Linked DNA regions of Homo sapiens: region 1 is linked to region 2. The links are contacts of gene promoters, found by promoter capture Hi-C in blood cells and fetal thymus (Javierre and others, 2016). All regions are on one chromosome and are shown on one strand. Each heading gives the region's core, a stretch centred on a gene start or on the middle of the fragment in contact. The rest is flanking DNA. Distances are from core to core; before and after follow the strand shown.

Region 1 (3,571 bases), core at 660-3,159, 190 kb before region 2:
GCAGACAAGCCAGGTCACACCTGCTTTTGTTTTTTCTTTAAACAAGCTTTTGCTGTGTATCCTTGGGCCATTTCTCTCCAGTGTAGTCTACTCCCTGGCTAGAATGTGACTTCCTCCTGGGCAAGGACTGGGTATCTTGCTGCCTGTCTCTCCCAGCGGGGTTGGTATTGATGGGCAGTCACCTGGAACTGTGGCTAGAAAGAGGAACAAGAGGCTTGAGAGGAAGAGGACTGGGGTGGATTCCGGCTGGAAGCAGGTCTGACAAGACTAGATCTTGGAGGAAGGGAGTGTGGACTGTCTACACTGGCAGAGAGGCATAGATATTGGAGCTCATCAGCTCATTCTGGCTGAATTTACAGCTGGTTTCTATGGTGACCAGAGATGATCAGATTATAACTCACCTGCTCCTTCTAGCTGCAGGCCCTCCTAAAGTCATTCTCAAACCTTCTCTTTTTTCTTTCTTTTTTAATTTAATTTTTTTTTTTAGATGGAGTCTTTCTCTATCACCCAGGCTGGAGTACAGTGGCACAATCTCGACTTACTGCAACCTCCACCTCCTGGGTTCAAGCAATTCTCCTGCCTTAGCCTCCCAAGTAGCTGGGATTACACGCGTGCACCACCAAGCCTGGCTAACTTTTGGATTTGTAGTAAAGACAGGGTTTCATCATCATGTTGGCCATGCTGGTCTCAAACTCCTGACCTCAAGGTCTTGGCCTCTCAAAGTGCTAGGATTACAGGCATGAGCCACTACATCTGGCCTCTGTTTTCTTTCTTATCATCTCCTTTGGTCTCTACCCACCTCCCCGCTCCCACCTCTCACCCCCATCAGTGCTGATCACTAATCTTTTTTTTTTTGAAACAAGGTCTCACTCTGTTACCCAGATTGGAGTGCAGTGATACGAACTCGGCTCACTACAACCTCTGCCTCCCAGGTTCAAGCAATTATCCTGCCTCAGCCTCCCGAGTAGCTGGGACTACAGGTGACTGCCACCATGCCTGGCTAATTTTTGTCTTTTTAGTAGAGATGCAGTTTCACCATGTTGGCTAGGCTGGTCTCGAACTCCTGACCTCAGGTGATCTACCCGCTTCGGCCCCCTGAAGTGTTGGGATTACAGGTGTGAGCCACCACGACCAGCCCTGATCACTAATTTTGAGGTGGTCATTAGATTCTGGAAGCTTGGTCCTCTAAGAGCAGGATCAAGTCAGATTCAGATAAAACAGAAACTCCCAGGTAAATTTGATTTCAGATAAGCAATGAGTCACTTTGTAGTATGAGTATGTCCCTAGTGTTTAGGACATACTTATGAAGCTGTCCTCACAGGCTTAACAAGAATCTTGGACAGAAATATAGTTATAATTAAGCATAATGAGGCTGCACTTTCACCCACTTCCTTGTAACAGAAAGTCGCATAGCACTAGATACTGACCACTTGAATCCCCATTGTTCCTTTAGATTGGATCTCTGACATTAGAATCATAAGGCTTGGCTGGGCCTGTGATCCCAGCATTTTGGGAGGCTGAGGCAGGTGGATCGTTTGAACTCAGTGACCAACCTGGCCAACGTGACAAAACCCCGTCTCTACAAAAAATACAAAAAATAGCCAGGTGTGGTGGATTTGTGCCTATAGTCCTAGCTATTCGGGAGGCTAAGGTAGGAGCATCACCTGAGCCTGGGGAGGTTGAAGCTATAGTGAGCCATGATTGTGCCACTGCACTCCAGCCTGGGCAACAGAGTGAGACCATCTCAAAAAAAAAAAAAAAAAGAATCATAAGGGTTTTGTTTAAGAATTGCTTAAGATGTTTTTCAGGTCCCTGAATTCCAGTGAAACAGCTGATGCCAACCAGTTTGAAGACCTCCACAGAGGAATGAAAGCAACATAAGAATAGTTTCTTCATTTCCTTGTCCCATGACTTCATGCACTCTTTGCCTAATCAACGATCTCCCCACTTCAGCCCTCTCCAAAACCCTTAAAAACCCTAGCCCCAGGCCAGGCGAAGTGGCTTACACCTGAAATCCCAGCACTTTGGGAGGCCAAGGTGGGAGGATTGCTTGAGCCCAGGAGACCAGTCTAGGCAACAAAGTGAGACCCTGTCTCTATTAAAAAAAAAAAAATTTTAACCAGGCATGGGCACACGCCTGTGATACTAGCTGTATGGGAGGCTGAGGCAGAGGATTGTTTGAGCCCAGGAGGTCGAGCTCCAGCGAGCCATTTTTGCGCCACTGCACTCCAGCCTGGGTAACAGAGAGAGACCCTGTCTCAAAAAAAACAAAAAACAAACAACAAAAAACCCCCAGCCCCTGACTCCCTGGGGAGATAGATTTGAAGTTTCCTCCCTGTCTTCTCAGTGGACCTGTATTAAACCTCTTTCTCTGCTGCAACCCCGTGTCTGGGTGTATTGATTTGACAGGAGTGTCAGGCAATTAACCTATTACAGTTACGCTTAGAGTAAAAAATGATTCATTATTTGTCTAAAATTCAAATTAGATATGTATCCTGCATTTCATTTCTCAGTCTGGCACCCTGCTGGTCTGGCATCCAGCTCAGAGCCCTTGCTCAGAGACAGTGACTATGACAACAGCTAATTGAATTAGTGCATCTCAGGCACATTTTCCTTTCTAATATGCTGTTGACTAAGCTTACGATATTTTCTCCCTCTGACTCAGTTACATCTCTAAATTGATACCAGCCCCCTTGGACATGGCCTTCACCCTAGGGAAGCCTAGGTTCCTGTATTTAACACCATTCTCTTTTTTTAATTTTTTAAAAAATGTGTTATTTTTAAAAAAATAGAGACAGGGTGTTGCTATGTTGCCCAAGCTGGTCTTGAACTCCTGAGCTCAAATGATCCTTGTCCTTTGGCCTCACAAAGTGCTGGGATTACAGATGTGAGCCACTGCACCCAGCCCTGTATTTAACACACATCTAGAAAATTCGGAGCACAGACAGATTGAGAACACTTTCCTCTTTTGCATACAGTTTCAGGGTATTCCCAGGTCTCATGAAGCCCAGGCGTGGATTGCCCCTGACATAACTTCTTATCCAACCCCCCGCTTTTCAGAATAGAAAACCCAGGCCCAGAAAGAAGGTGACTTGCTCAGGTCAATAGCAAATGACTGTGAGCTAGTCAACTCCCTGTATTTATTTATTTGGCTTAGATTTATATGAACTAGTTTAAACCTGATAGTAATAAAAAAATTCACTGGCCCTACAAATGCTTAATTACATTTAAAGTAATACAACTTATGAACCAATGAACTGTAAAAAGATATTTTTGGCCAGGCGTGATGGCTCACGTCTGTAATCCTAGCACTTTGGGAGGCCGAGGCAGGAGGATCACTTGAGTCCAGGAGTTCCAAACCAGCCTGGGCAACGTGGTGAAACCCCATCTCTACAAAAGATAAAAAATTAGCTGGGCATGGTGGCACGTGCCTGTAGTCCCAGGCTGAGGTGGGAGGATCACCTGAGCCTGGAGAGGTTGAGGCTGCAGTGAGCCATGATCGTGCCACTGTACTCCAGCCTGGGCAGTAGAGTGAGACCCCCACCTCACAAAAAAAAAAAAGATTTTTTTG
Region 2 (3,731 bases), core at 187-2,686:
TCAATAAACAGAATACTCTAAGACATTTTTAAATTCAATATGATTAGATAAATGTGAGAAAGGTAAGCAAGAATTGGTTAGGAAAAAGTGCAAAGGAAAAAAACGTAAGTAGAAAAAGAAAAATAGGGCACAGTAGCAAGGAAATATCTAGAAGGAGGAAAGAAGGCTCTTGGGACATACTGTAGGTTATTTGGAATGCAGAATTCAAAAGAAGTAACCTCTTGTTACCATGCTGTGAAAAATTAGTATTTCTCTTTTTAACCTTTAGACTCTGTTTCAGGTAGATCCCTGAGCTCACTCTTTTATCCTTTCAACAGTAATTGGGCATCCTACGGTGCACAGGATACCATGTGGGGCTCTGGGGTAGAGGGATGCTGTGCTCCAGGGCCCTCCTGAGGTCAGGAGGGGAAAAGGCAAGGGAAGCAGCCCCAGGACTCAGTAAGATGAGAGGAGGCAGGAGCAGCACAGAGGAGGACCCCAACCCAGCTGGGGTGCGGGTACAGAGGCACCTCCAGGAGCAGGCACTCAAGCTGAGTCCAGGGTGGGGTGGAGGGCATTCCACCAAGAATGAATAGCAAGAACAAGGCTGCAGATGACCCTGCACAGATTCCAGCATCAGGGATTCTGGCCCCCAGCGTCCCTTTCCTTGGTGTATGCTGCTGGAAGACAGGAGGGGGCAGTTCTCTTTTGGTCCTTAGAAATTTCCCTATAGACATCCCTTCTCCTGCCCCTAGCAGCTTATAACAGCAGAAGGCCATTCAATTCTGCTCCTCTGGCTGGAAAGCAAACATCAGCCTGGCTTACCTTCGCTAGCCTGCCTGACCCCCAGCCTTGGGGTGGGGCTAGGTTAGTGCCCTGGATCCTTAAACATGGCCCCTGGTAGCACATAAGCCTCTGCTGCCTCCACAACCAGCCATCTCCATCATGCATGGCCTGGTCCTGAGCCTCCCCTCAGGCAGCAGCCCCAGCCTCTCTGCTTCCTGAGATTCAGAAACAGGGATCCCAGGGCAGGGCTCAGGGCCCAGCCTCTTGGGGGCACAGTCTCCAGCAGGGAAGAGGTGGGCGTAGGTGGACAAATACATTCCCTTCTTCTTGTAGTGTGCCCCTGTGGGTGGGAGTGCCCCCCGCCCCACATCCACCCTACCTATGCTCATGCCCACTCCTCTGTGCCCACTACTGGTGGCAGGGCTTGCTTAGCAGGGAAGCAGCAGAGCCCTGCAGAGGGGTGGGCAGAGCCTCCCTTCCAGGAGCTGGGAGAAGACACCTGAAGCTGGACAGAGCTTTATCTGGGAGCCGGCGGCTGCTGAATAATGAATTCCAACTCTGCCGCACTCCCAGGCTGCACATTGGGTGCACACACACACACACACACACGCACACACCGATACACACACGCTGGGCTGACAACTTGGAGGGGCGGGGGCTGTGAGGCTCTGTGAGTCGCTGCAGGAGCAGCTTAGCTCGGCTTGGTTGCCTTGGTCTCTGTGGGCAGCATCGGAGGGGGGTCGGGAGGAGGAGGAGGAGGCAGCGGCAGAGAAGAGAGAGGCGTGTGAGCCGTGCTCCACCGGCTAGCTCCTTCCCGCTGCTCCTGCCTGGCAGTGCCAGGCAGCCCACACCAGCATGGCCTTGCTCATCCACCTCAAGACAGTCTCGGAGCTGCGGGGCAGGGGCGACCGGATCGCCAAAGTGACTTTCCGAGGTAGGGAAGCCGCTGTCTCAGAGGGACGCCAGCTCTGAGAGCTGGACCAGCCCATGCTCTGGAGGTGGCCGGGGATAGGACAGGGCTGGGAGGATGGGTGGGAAAAGTTCTAGCAGGGGCTGGGGCGACGAGCCTTTTCACAGGTAGTCATCTGCCTGGGACTGACTGGCCATTGTGATTTCTGGAAAATCAGGGTCCCCTGTTCTTCCATGCCTGTGTCTCCTTGTGCTTGCCAACATGCCAGTTCCCCGGGCAGGGCACAGAGCCCTCTGCCTGGGGAGGCAGAAGTGAGGACCACATCCCTGAGCTCAGGGAGACCCAGGACCCCCTCCTTCTCTCTCTCTCCCTCTCCTGCAGGTTGATTTCCTTGAGCACAGGGTGGGGGCCGGGTATGGAGCCTGGGGCACCCAGGGTGACTGGGAGAAACCAGGCAGCCAGTAGCTCCCTGGGCCCCAGAGTGATGGGGGACACTGTTGGCTTCTTTTAGATCTATTCATGGGCGGGAACCCCGGGAGCCCCTCGCCTCTCTTCTGTCTGGTCTTTTCTCATCCTTTTCACTCCTGTATTCAGCGACCATTTATTATGATCTACTGTGTCCCAAGGATAGGGGTAGAAACACAGAGCTGAGCACAACCCAGCCCCAGCCCCAAGGAGCCTGCATCTGTTGGGCAGGCGTGGAACAAGCAGGACAGGTATGTGAGACAGAAGGTGGGGGTGCAGCATGCAAGCTACAGAAGCAGCACCCTCACCCAGGCTGGTGACCGGTGGTCAGGGAAGGCTTCCCGGAGGAAGTAACACTCAGCTAATACCCGAAGGACCAGCGGGTGGGAGCTAGGAGAGGAGGTAAGGACTGAGGAGGCAGAGGAAACAGTGTGCCCAGAGCTGAGAGAGGAGCTGAAACTCTGGAACTGAAAGAGGTTCCATGTGTCTACAGCTCAGAGAGGGTGCAGGAGCGGAGGCCAGAGAGCCAAGCAGGGCAAGGAGGCGAGGCTGGACCTGACCCCGGGGACAGCGGAGCCCCTGAGCATTTTAAGTGGGGAAAGGCAGGGCCAGGCTGACTCTGTCCTTCACCACCCACCTCTGCCTCTCCATGTGGTTGCTGCCCAGCCCTGAGGGTTGGGGGTACTTCTCACTAGACATGGCCCCTTCTCCCGAGAGAGGGGTCTGAGAGTGGGATGGGGACGAGGTGGTGAGAAGGGGGCAGAGAGGACCCCCCTATACTAAAGAGCAAAGTGAGCCTTGGGGCCCAGGCTGGACACAGTGTCTGCACCTCTGTTGGAAGGGATGGGAGAGACCATTGGCAGAACATTCCAGCAAGAGCCCTGGGGCACCCACATCACCTACCCAGAGGCCCTGGGATGCCCACATTGCAGCTTGTGTTCATAGGGACAGGCAGGGGTGGAGGTGATGGCAGTGGCCCTGCCGGCAGGCGGAGGTTAGGCAGGAGGGAGAGGGAGGTGTGGGCTGGGCTGCCTTTTGCCTCCCACCCCAACCCACTGACTGCTTTCTCTGCAGCACCCTGGATCTCCCTCTGTGTGCCACCTGCAGGCTCATGCTGGCTTTAGAAAAAGCAAATGTGTCCTTTCATCTGTGAAATGTGGCCCTGAGCTCCACGGGCAGCATAGTGTGGGGCGGTTAAGCTACAGGTTGCCATCCTGCTGCAGCTGTGCTGGAACGGTCCAGGCTGCACCGGACAGGCCCACTTGCAGGCCGAGAAACCAAGGTTCAGGGGTAGAACACTGCGCGTGGCATTCACGGAGGAGCTGAGGCACGGTGGTCCCAGCTCTCAGGACCTCATCCTGAGTACTCAATCTTGCAAGCTCTTTATCTGCTCCTGGGCCACCTGGGGGCCAGCACCTTGTCTGACACCCATCTTCTCCTTGGAGCAGTGAAGGGCTGGGCCTTTAGCCTCACTGACCACACAGGAATTAGTTTATTTGCAACCCTTGCTCTCTGGACTGAGTGGAGAAATCGCTTCCAAGCTCCACATTGGCAGGAGGTGGCCATGGGCAGAGCTCCTGGGGAAGGGGGC

Evidence for each region. The method cuts DNA at HindIII sites, captures the fragments that hold promoters and counts their contacts. A CHiCAGO score of 5 or more calls a contact.
Region 1: a fragment that was not itself captured here is called in contact with the fragment with the promoter of OTOF in region 2 in 2 of 17 cell types (M0 macrophages and M1 macrophages); the score reaches 5.7 in M0 macrophages.

Annotation. Positions count from the first base shown.
Region 1 is chr2:26,751,836-26,755,406 of GRCh38, reverse strand. No RefSeq gene overlaps it. Among named protein-coding and RNA genes, the nearest start is that of SLC35F6, 11 kb to the left of the region's middle. RefSeq lists enhancers at 127-874, 875-1,622, 1,623-2,370. The HindIII fragment of the contact is 1,461 bases long and covers 1,179-2,639 here.
Region 2 is chr2:26,556,461-26,560,191 of GRCh38, reverse strand. It overlaps OTOF (otoferlin), which reads left to right and starts at 1,436. Exons shown (of 47, transcript NM_194248.3): 1 at 1,436-1,699. The coding sequence starts at 1,621. RefSeq lists enhancers at 489-1,281, 1,282-2,075. The HindIII fragment of the contact is 8,824 bases long and covers 1-3,731 here.